Linked DNA regions of Homo sapiens: region 1 is linked to region 2. The links are contacts of gene promoters, found by promoter capture Hi-C in human tissues and cell types (Jung and others, 2019). All regions are on one chromosome and are shown on one strand. Each heading gives the region's core, a stretch centred on a gene start or on the middle of the fragment in contact. The rest is flanking DNA. Distances are from core to core; before and after follow the strand shown. Region 1 overlaps PTPRA (protein tyrosine phosphatase receptor type A). Region 2 holds the start of C20orf141 (chromosome 20 open reading frame 141).

The links. Contacts are between HindIII fragments. The study calls those that stand out against the background at their distance.
Region 1: a contact is called between a fragment that was not itself captured here and the fragment with the promoter of C20orf141 in region 2, in 2 of the 25 tissues and cell types used here (adrenal gland and mesenchymal stem cells).

The regions. Positions count from the first base shown.
Region 1 is chr20:2,905,958-2,909,942 of GRCh38, forward strand. The region is part of intron 1 of PTPRA (protein tyrosine phosphatase receptor type A); the gene reads left to right. Among named protein-coding and RNA genes, the nearest start is that of PTPRA, 34 kb to the left of the region's middle. The HindIII fragment of the contact is 8,451 bases long and covers 1-3,985 here.
Region 2 is chr20:2,813,235-2,817,801 of GRCh38, forward strand. C20orf141 (chromosome 20 open reading frame 141) reads left to right here and starts at 1,753. Exons shown (of 3, transcript NM_001256538.2): 1 at 1,753-1,783; 2 at 1,918-2,210; 3 at 2,304-2,596. The coding sequence starts at 1,951. The coding sequence ends at 2,541. It overlaps TMEM239 (transmembrane protein 239), which reads left to right and starts at 3,130. Exons shown (of 2, transcript NM_001167670.3): 1 at 3,130-3,181; 2 at 3,310-4,567. The coding sequence starts at 3,321. The coding sequence ends at 3,779. RefSeq lists a silencer at 3,627-3,686. The HindIII fragment of the contact is 18,533 bases long and covers 1-4,567 here.

The DNA.
Region 1 (3,985 bases), core at 371-2,870, 93 kb after region 2:
TTACAGGTGTGAGCCACCACACCTGACCTCGTAAAATTCTTAAACGATCTATACTCAGTTGTCTTACAGTTGCCTAGATTCTTGTTCCATTTAAAGAAACTGAAATTTGAAATCACAAATGTGGATTATGGATATGATGGGTTATGGATATGATATATTTGTAATGAATATGCAAGAGAGAACATTTGAAACATTAATTAGTAGAAATGTACTTAAAGAAGAGGCCTTGGTTTTTTACCGTAATATTGGCAGGTGACATGTATTTGTTTTGAGTAAAAATCAAATATTTCAGTTACATTTTTAAAATTACCTGATATACTGTACTTTTTCATGTAACCAGTCAGCCCTGAGTCCTATTTGTGTTAGATAAGTTTTTACCAATCCCAGAAGGAGATAGAGGACAAGCTTTTATATGCTTCGGCTGAAGAAAACCTTTCTCCAAAGAAGTAATTATCTGATCCTCCTATAAAGGGCCAGATAGTAAATATTTTAGATTTTGCAGGCTGAAGTAGAATCAAGGGTAATACGTACGTTCTGATATAACAAGAGAGAAAACAAATTTTGAGAAATTTCTTAATTGATTAAATTCAAAATAATAAACACAATTTATTGAAATACAGGTATACTAATGAGAAGAATGGAGTTCTTTTCGGAGTGATAACATTTTCTTAATTGGAGTTCAGAGTTAGTGCTTCCTATTCAATAAATAATCATCAAAATTGATTGCAAGTATTTATCTATTAATGCAGGTCTGTAATGAGGTTTTATATATTTCATCTTTGACATGTCTTCACACATACATGTCAAATAATTGATACCAGCCCATAAACATATGATTTTAATTGAGCATATTAATAACTCAGGAAGCATTTATAGAATTAGGTTTTTCTTATAACATTTACCTTTTAGTATATTATTCATTGCTGCTTAATTACTTCCAATGGAAGGTTAGACAGAAGCTCCACAATTGCACTGTTAAATAGATACTGAAATATAGATATTTCCTTGTGCATTAAGGTCCTAAAAATTATTCTGGAAATGTAGTGTGAGCTAAGAAACTATATCCACTGCAAATTTGTTTGGGAATGGAGATCTCACTTCTTGTTTTAACTTTTGATAGCATGTAAAGTGTATAAAGCAGCTCAACGTTGCTTATGATTCAAAAGTTAGTTGTCTAAATAACAACAGTTTAAGTTTCATATATAAGTGTTGTTCTGTCCTGTAATTTTAAGTTGAATTTACTATTATAAAATTAGCAAAAGCTAATTCTCAAAGCCATTTATTGTTTGATCATAGTGTCTGAAAGCAGTCTTATTGTTGTGAAAAATTTCAATCTCAGTTCCAAGCTGAAAAGAAAAAAAAAAAAGCATGATAAAACTTTAGTACAGCTCAGCCGTCAAACTGCTGTGTGCCTGGGCAAGTCAGGTTATTCAGCTTCTGTTTCTGACAATGGTTAAGCCCATGGCAGTGAATGAAATTCACCATTAACATGGTTGGTTTAATAATTCATGATAAATTCAGATATTTTTCATAGAATATCTATTGATAAAAAACATGAATAACCACCTTACATTTTCACGTTTTATAAATCACCCAACTAAGCCTTTTTCTGCTTCACACATATTTTTACCATTATCAATGATAACGTATCTGAGATTCCACTTTAGGTTATATGGAATTAGTACTTTTTCACCTTCTTGTTTGTAGTTGTTCAACACAGACTATTCATAGAAGCTAATTCTTCAGTTGTTTTAAACTTGGCACTGACTCCTTGAATAAACATCTGAACAGTGTTGTAACATCTATCAAACTCATTCAAAAGAGATGGAAATCTACTTAACCTCAATTGCCTTGGTTTTTTTTTTAAACAGATTATTGATCTTGCTCCTAATATTTTCGACTTTTAGAGCAAATGATTTTGTTGAAAGGCTAATAGTCTTTTTTTCTTTTTAAATTATCTTATATTAAATTTAAAAAATAATTTTTTTGTTACCTGTCTGGAGAAAGCCTAGAGAAAGGCTAATTAATACTCTTAAACAAGTTTATTTTCTCTGGATACATTTCTTCAGCTTCTTCATGATTTAATTCACTTATCACTAGAATATTACTTTTCTTGCTTTGCTAACAAATGAGCTACTTAGAAACTTCCCTCCTTTACAAACTTTCTATTCCTTACCTTCCCTCCTTGCTGTAATGAAATATTCCACTTTAAATTTTCAAATTTTTCTGACCATTGCTTTCCTGTGAATCGGAAATACTGTGATCGGTCCTTAGTTTGGTAACATTGATGTATTTTGAATTCTTTTAGCACAGACAGACAGTTGACTCCTTGAACAACGCAGTTTCAAACTGCACAGGTCCAATTATATGAGAATTTTTTTTCAATAAATACAATCAGCAGTTTATACATATACAACCAAACGTGGATCAAAAATACGTTATTTGAGGAAACCCCCAGATACAGAACAGTGAAATTTTTGTATCCTCTGGGCCACTGTGGGACTTGAGTGTGCATAGATTTTGGTATCCACGGTTGATCCACAGATACCAAGGGATGACCGTAGAGTCATTGCATAATAAACAAAATGCTTCCCTATCTTGTCTTGATAAAATAATGCATACCCTCCACTGTGCCTTAAAAGCATGACATTCAGGCTGGGTGTGGTGGCTCACACTTGTAATCCCAGCACTTTTGGAGGCCAGGGTGGGAGGATTGCTTGAGCCCAGGAGTTCAAGACCAGCCTTGGCAACATAGTGAGAGTCCATCTCTAGTTTTAAAAAAATACAAAATTAAAAAAAATGAAAAACATGACATTCAAAGTGCATTTGTTTTTGTTTCGACATGATGGTTATGCACTAATAACTAATGATAGTTATGTACTAATAAAATGTCAAAATAATAACGACTTTTAGTTACTGATAACAGTTATGCATTAATAAAAAATAAAATGTCACAGTATGACAATATGCATGTGTGGCACCAAACATGCTGTTGAGTTATAACTTTGTGACTGTGATTTGTGGGATACTGAGCAGCAGTGGAAAGCTATATAAGCCACTCCACTCTGCCAGTCAGTACAGTGGCTGATTACCAATTATGGATAACCAGAACACATCAAAAAGCAGTTCAACAAGGATCAGAATAATAACATGTAAGTACCATTTATTAAGTAGTTATGTGTAAGGCACTGTGTCAGACTGTATAATGTACATTATTTAACCTTCAAAAGATTGAGAGGGAAGATCCCTTGAGTCTGGGAGGTCGAGGTTGCAGTTAGCTGTGATTGCACCACTGCACTCTAGCCTGAGTGATGGAGCGAAATCCTGTCTCAAAAAACAAAACAAAACAAAACAGGCCTGGTGCGGTGGCTCATGCTTGTAAATCCCAGCACTTTGGGAGGCTGAGGCTGAGGTCAGGAGTTTGAGACCAGCTGGGCCAACATGGCGAAACCACGTCTCTACTAAAAATACAGAAATTAGTTGGTGTGGTGGCTCACACCTATAATCCCAGCTACTCGGGAGGCTGAGGCAGGAGAATTGCTTCAACCCAGGAGGCGGAGGTTGCAGTGAGCCAAGATCATGCCACTGCACTCCAGCCTGGATGAGAGTGAGACTCCATCTCCAAAAAAAACCAAAACAAAACAAACGAAAACTACAAAAGATTGTCTGAAGCCAGCCACAGACAATAGTAAATGAATGAGTGCAGCTACATTCTTTCTTATTTATGGATGCAGAAGTTTGAATTTCATATAATTTTTCCGTTTCACTTATATATAAATTATATATTATATATTACATAATATATAATATATATTATAAGATAATATAATATATATTAGATAATATATATAATATAAGATAATATATATTAGATAATATATATAATATAAGATAATATATATTATATAATATAATTAAAATATATTAATTATAATATATAATATATGACATATATATGTTATATATTGTTATATATAATATGTGT
Region 2 (4,567 bases), core at 503-3,002:
AAGTTGAAATCTCAAATCCCAATGTTGGAGGTAGGGCCTGATGGGAGGTGTTTGGGTCATGGGGGTGGATATTTCATGGCTTGGTGCTGTCCTTGAAATAGTGAGTGAGTTCTCTCAAGATCTGGTTGTTTAAGTGTGTGGCAACTCCCCTAACCACCACTCTCTCCCTTGCTCTTCACCCTTTGCCTTCTGCCATGATTGGAAGTTTCCTGAGGTCTCCCCAAAAGCAGATGCTGGTACCCTACTTCCTGTACAGCCTGCAAAACTGCAAGCCAATTAAGCCTCTTTTCTTATAAATTACCCAGTCTCAGGTATTTCTTCATAGCAACGCAAGAATGGCCTAATACACCCACCATCTGGTGCAGTGCCTGGCACATAGGAAGCACTTAAATAAATGATTGTTGAATACAAAATAAACTCTGAGAAAATCACAGACAGAACTCTCCTATACATGCATACAGAGCACCTGGTGCATAGTAAATCTTTAAGGAGCTTTAGACTCTCCGATCCCCCCATGCCCTGCAATATGGAGTAGCCTCATCTTGGTGGACTCATCAGGACATGCTCCCCAGGTCTGTATGTCCAGGAATGCAATTGTGTGGATGCATCCAGGATTGATCAGGCTCAGGGAATTGCCAATCTTAAACCTTAATGTTCCTTTACAAGCACAATTGGAACTTAATGCCAAAAAAAAAAAAATTCTGGGATCTTCTGTTATACCCTATCCCATTACGGACAAATCTACTCGTAAAACCCAGCTGCTGGATAAGCAAGAACAGCCAGACCAAGGGCGATCAGTGCATGGTCATTAGGGCTGGTGACCCTCGTCTCTGGGCAAGGCCTGCTGGAGGTGGATATGCAGCCTGATTCTTGTTCTGTCTCCTCCTCTCCTAGGGGCTGTATGGCCACTGTCTCCCATTTTGCCACCCCTACCAGTTTTCCTTCAAAGTATGATATGTGGGCAAAGATTAAGTTCTCTTAATTATGACACATTTCCGCTCTTGCCTCTCAAGTCACTAAACTGAGATGTGCTGGACCCCTATGGCCACCACCCATTTACAGATGATCAGTGTAATCTGATATACTGATAATCCAAGTGACTAAGCCCTTCATTATATGTTCATTTTCCTTAACTCCATTCTCAGACTGTAACCTTAACCTCTAATAAGGGGGTTACTAGGTCATAGTCCTCTTAAGTTCATGTCCTCTACCTCATTACTGGAACCCCAGTATGCATAACACCCCCTATAAACTGTAGTGCTTAGAATACCTGAACAGCCCCCTCCTCTCTCACCCCCATTTAGCAGGTTATGCGGAAGCCCAGCCCCAGAAGCCTCAGGCAGTCCCCTGGCAGAGCCCATCTCTGCAATCTGGAACTTCAGGCCTGAAAAATCCCCTAGAAGGACCCACAGGGAAGACAGCTGGGGACAGAGATATTGAATGACTTCGCCCTGGACCTGCAGCTCTGCAAACTCACAGGAAGAAGAAAGCAGACCTCGCTCCCTTGGACAGATGCCCAAGTAGTAATGGGGTTAGAATGCCTTCCTGACAACTCAGATCCCCAAGGGAGGGCCCTAGGGCAGAGAATCAGCAAAGGCAAGAGGATGAGTCTTAGTTCTCAGAAATCCCTGACTTCCCAGCTAAGCCCCACCTAGGCCACCAGCTGCTTATGAGGTCAGAGCAGCAGCAGCAGCAGCCCCCTCCCTACCCCACGGCCCCACGTGGTAACAGGTCACAATGCCCCGGGTGCCCACTCCCAGAATGCTGACCAAAGTGGGAGGAGGTGAGGAGGGTTTGCTGGGTGGGTATGGGGGAGGGGGAGACTCTGCAGGAGCCTAATTCCCCACTCTGAGCTCACCCTTCTGTCTGCCCGGGCCCTACCCCTTCCCCTACTCTCACCCTTATAATCCTTTTCAGCACTAGGTCTTCCCGTCACCTCCACCTCTCTCCATGACCCGGCTCTGCTTACCCAGACCCGAAGCACGTGAGGATCCGATCCCAGTTCCTCCAAGGGGCCTGGGTGCTGGGGAGGGGTCAGGTAGTCCAGTGCGTCCACCTGTATCCACCTGGGGCCCTAGCTGGGCCCAGCTCCTGGACAGTGTCCTATGGCTGGGGGCACTAGGACTGACAATCCAGGCAGTCTTTTCCACCACTGGCCCAGCCCTGCTGCTGCTTCTGGTCAGCTTCCTCACCTTTGACCTGCTCCATAGGTAAGTGGGCAGCAGCCTGGCAGGTGGGCATTGTAGGCGGGCGGGCCAGTGGACAACTTCCCTAAGCCCAGTCACCACCCTCTCTCTCCACAGGCCCGCAGGTCACACTCTGCCACAGCGCAAACTTCTCACCAGGGGCCAGAGTCAGGGGGCCGGTGAAGGTCCTGGACAGCAGGAGGCTCTACTCCTGCAAATGGGTACAGTCTCAGGACAACTTAGCCTCCAGGACGCACTGCTGCTGCTGCTCATGGGGCTGGGCCCGCTCCTGAGAGCCTGTGGCATGCCCTTGACCCTGCTTGGCCTGGCTTTCTGCCTCCATCCTTGGGCCTGAGAGCCCCTCCCCACAACTCAGTGTCCTTCAAATATACAATGACCACCCTTCTTCATCAGGCCCCCTTTTCTCCTTCCTGGCTGGGCAGGTGGGATGATACCCCTTTCTTCCCAGCCTGAACCTCACAGTCCTATAATATAGGTATCAGATACCTGGATCTGAGTCTTTGGGCAGCAAGAGAAGGTAGGATACTAGCCAGGGAGCCCAAGGAAGAATGTGGCAGCCACCTCAGAGCCTGTGGATTGGGGGCAGCCACTCTGGCCTCCTCTGTGGCTCTAGAGAATGAAGGTCCAGACAGAAAGACTTGCGAGAGAGCAGTTTGGAAAGGGGTGGATATCAGCCAGCAGGGAAAGCAGGAAAGGGACAGGGATCCAGGGAGGGCTTCCCATGAGAAAGCATGAGAAACTACATCTGCGGGGCTCCGAGGCTCCCCTGCCAGCCTGGAGGGTCCGTGCAGAGGGACTTGGGTGGGCCTCACACCCTACAGTGACTCCTCTCTTGGCTGGACCCCACCCCAGCCCGGGTCACAAAGGGGCTCCTCTGGGGAGGGTGGGGGTAGATGAGAGTGGGGACTTGGATCTGCCTGCCAGGCCGTCCTGGGCGCTGCAGGAAGCAACATGACTTAGGTAACTGCCCAGAGGTAAGTCCCAGTCCCTAATTCTGTAGCCCCACCCCACGCACACTGGTGCCCTCCTGACCCCTGCACCCCCTCTCTGCCCCCCCCCCCCAAGGTCCCAGGCATCTTCAAGACCCTGGCCCTCTCCCCAGGTGCACCAGACATGATGCAGCAGCCGCGAGTGGAGACAGATACCATCGGGGCTGGCGAGGGGCCACAGCAGGCAGTGCCCTGGTCAGCCTGGGTCACGAGGCATGGCTGGGTGCGCTGGTGGGTGAGCCACATGCCCCCGAGCTGGATCCAGTGGTGGAGCACCTCGAACTGGCGGCAACCGCTGCAGCGCCTGCTGTGGGGTCTGGAGGGGATACTCTACCTGCTGCTGGCACTGATGTTGTGCCATGCACTCTTCACCACTGGCTCCCACCTGCTGAGCTCCTTGTGGCCTGTCGTGGCCGCGGTGTGGCGCCACCTGCTACCGGCTCTCCTGCTGCTGGTGCTCAGTGCTCTGCCTGCCCTCCTCTTCACGGCCTCCTTCCTGCTGCTCTTCTCCACACTGCTGAGCCTTGTGGGCCTCCTCACCTCCATGACTCACCCAGGCGACACTCAGGATTTGGATCAATAGAAGGGCAACCCCATCCCACTGCCTGTGTCTGTTGAGCCCTGGCCTAGGGCCTGAGACCCCACGGGGAGAGGGAGGGCAATGGGATCAGGGCTCCCTGCCTTGGCAGGGCCCAGACCCCTAGTCCCTAACAGGTAGACTGGCCTGACCCCGGACTCCTTCCTCAAGTCAATGCTGCAGGTTCCTGGTGTGAGGGGCTGGGGGCTTTGAGAAGAGGGGGCAAGACAGATGGCTTAGCCATTGGTGAAAATTGCTTAGCCAGGGGCAGAGCTTGACCAAGCCACTGATAGCGCCCATATGGATGTGATGATACCCGTGGGGCCCCCTTGGCAACTGACAGCATCTTTTTCTCATAGCCACTCAGCTGTCTCAGCTTCAGACTCACTGAGAACTTCTACCTGGGTACCACTGGCCTTGCCATTCCTCCCACCAATCCCCTCTTTCCACTTCCAGGAGAACCACAGACTCTAGAGAGGGTCCCAGTGACAAAAATCTATCAGGGAGAAGGCTGGCCAGAAGCCCCAGGAGACCTCAACTCACTCGCTCTCCAAACCTTGCAGCCCACGCATCCTCCTCCCTAGACTTCCTACTTCCTGCCTCAGTCTGCATCCCCAAGTCTGAGAAATGGGCCAACTGGGGTCAGACAGCACCTACTCACTCTCTAAGAATCCCAAGGTCTGTTATGGAAAAATGATCAAGAAATCCCATTTCACCCACTTACACAATGTGTGGCCTTGGCCAATTAATTCATTTGAGCCTCAATGTTACGTGGGCCACTTCTGTCATGGGGT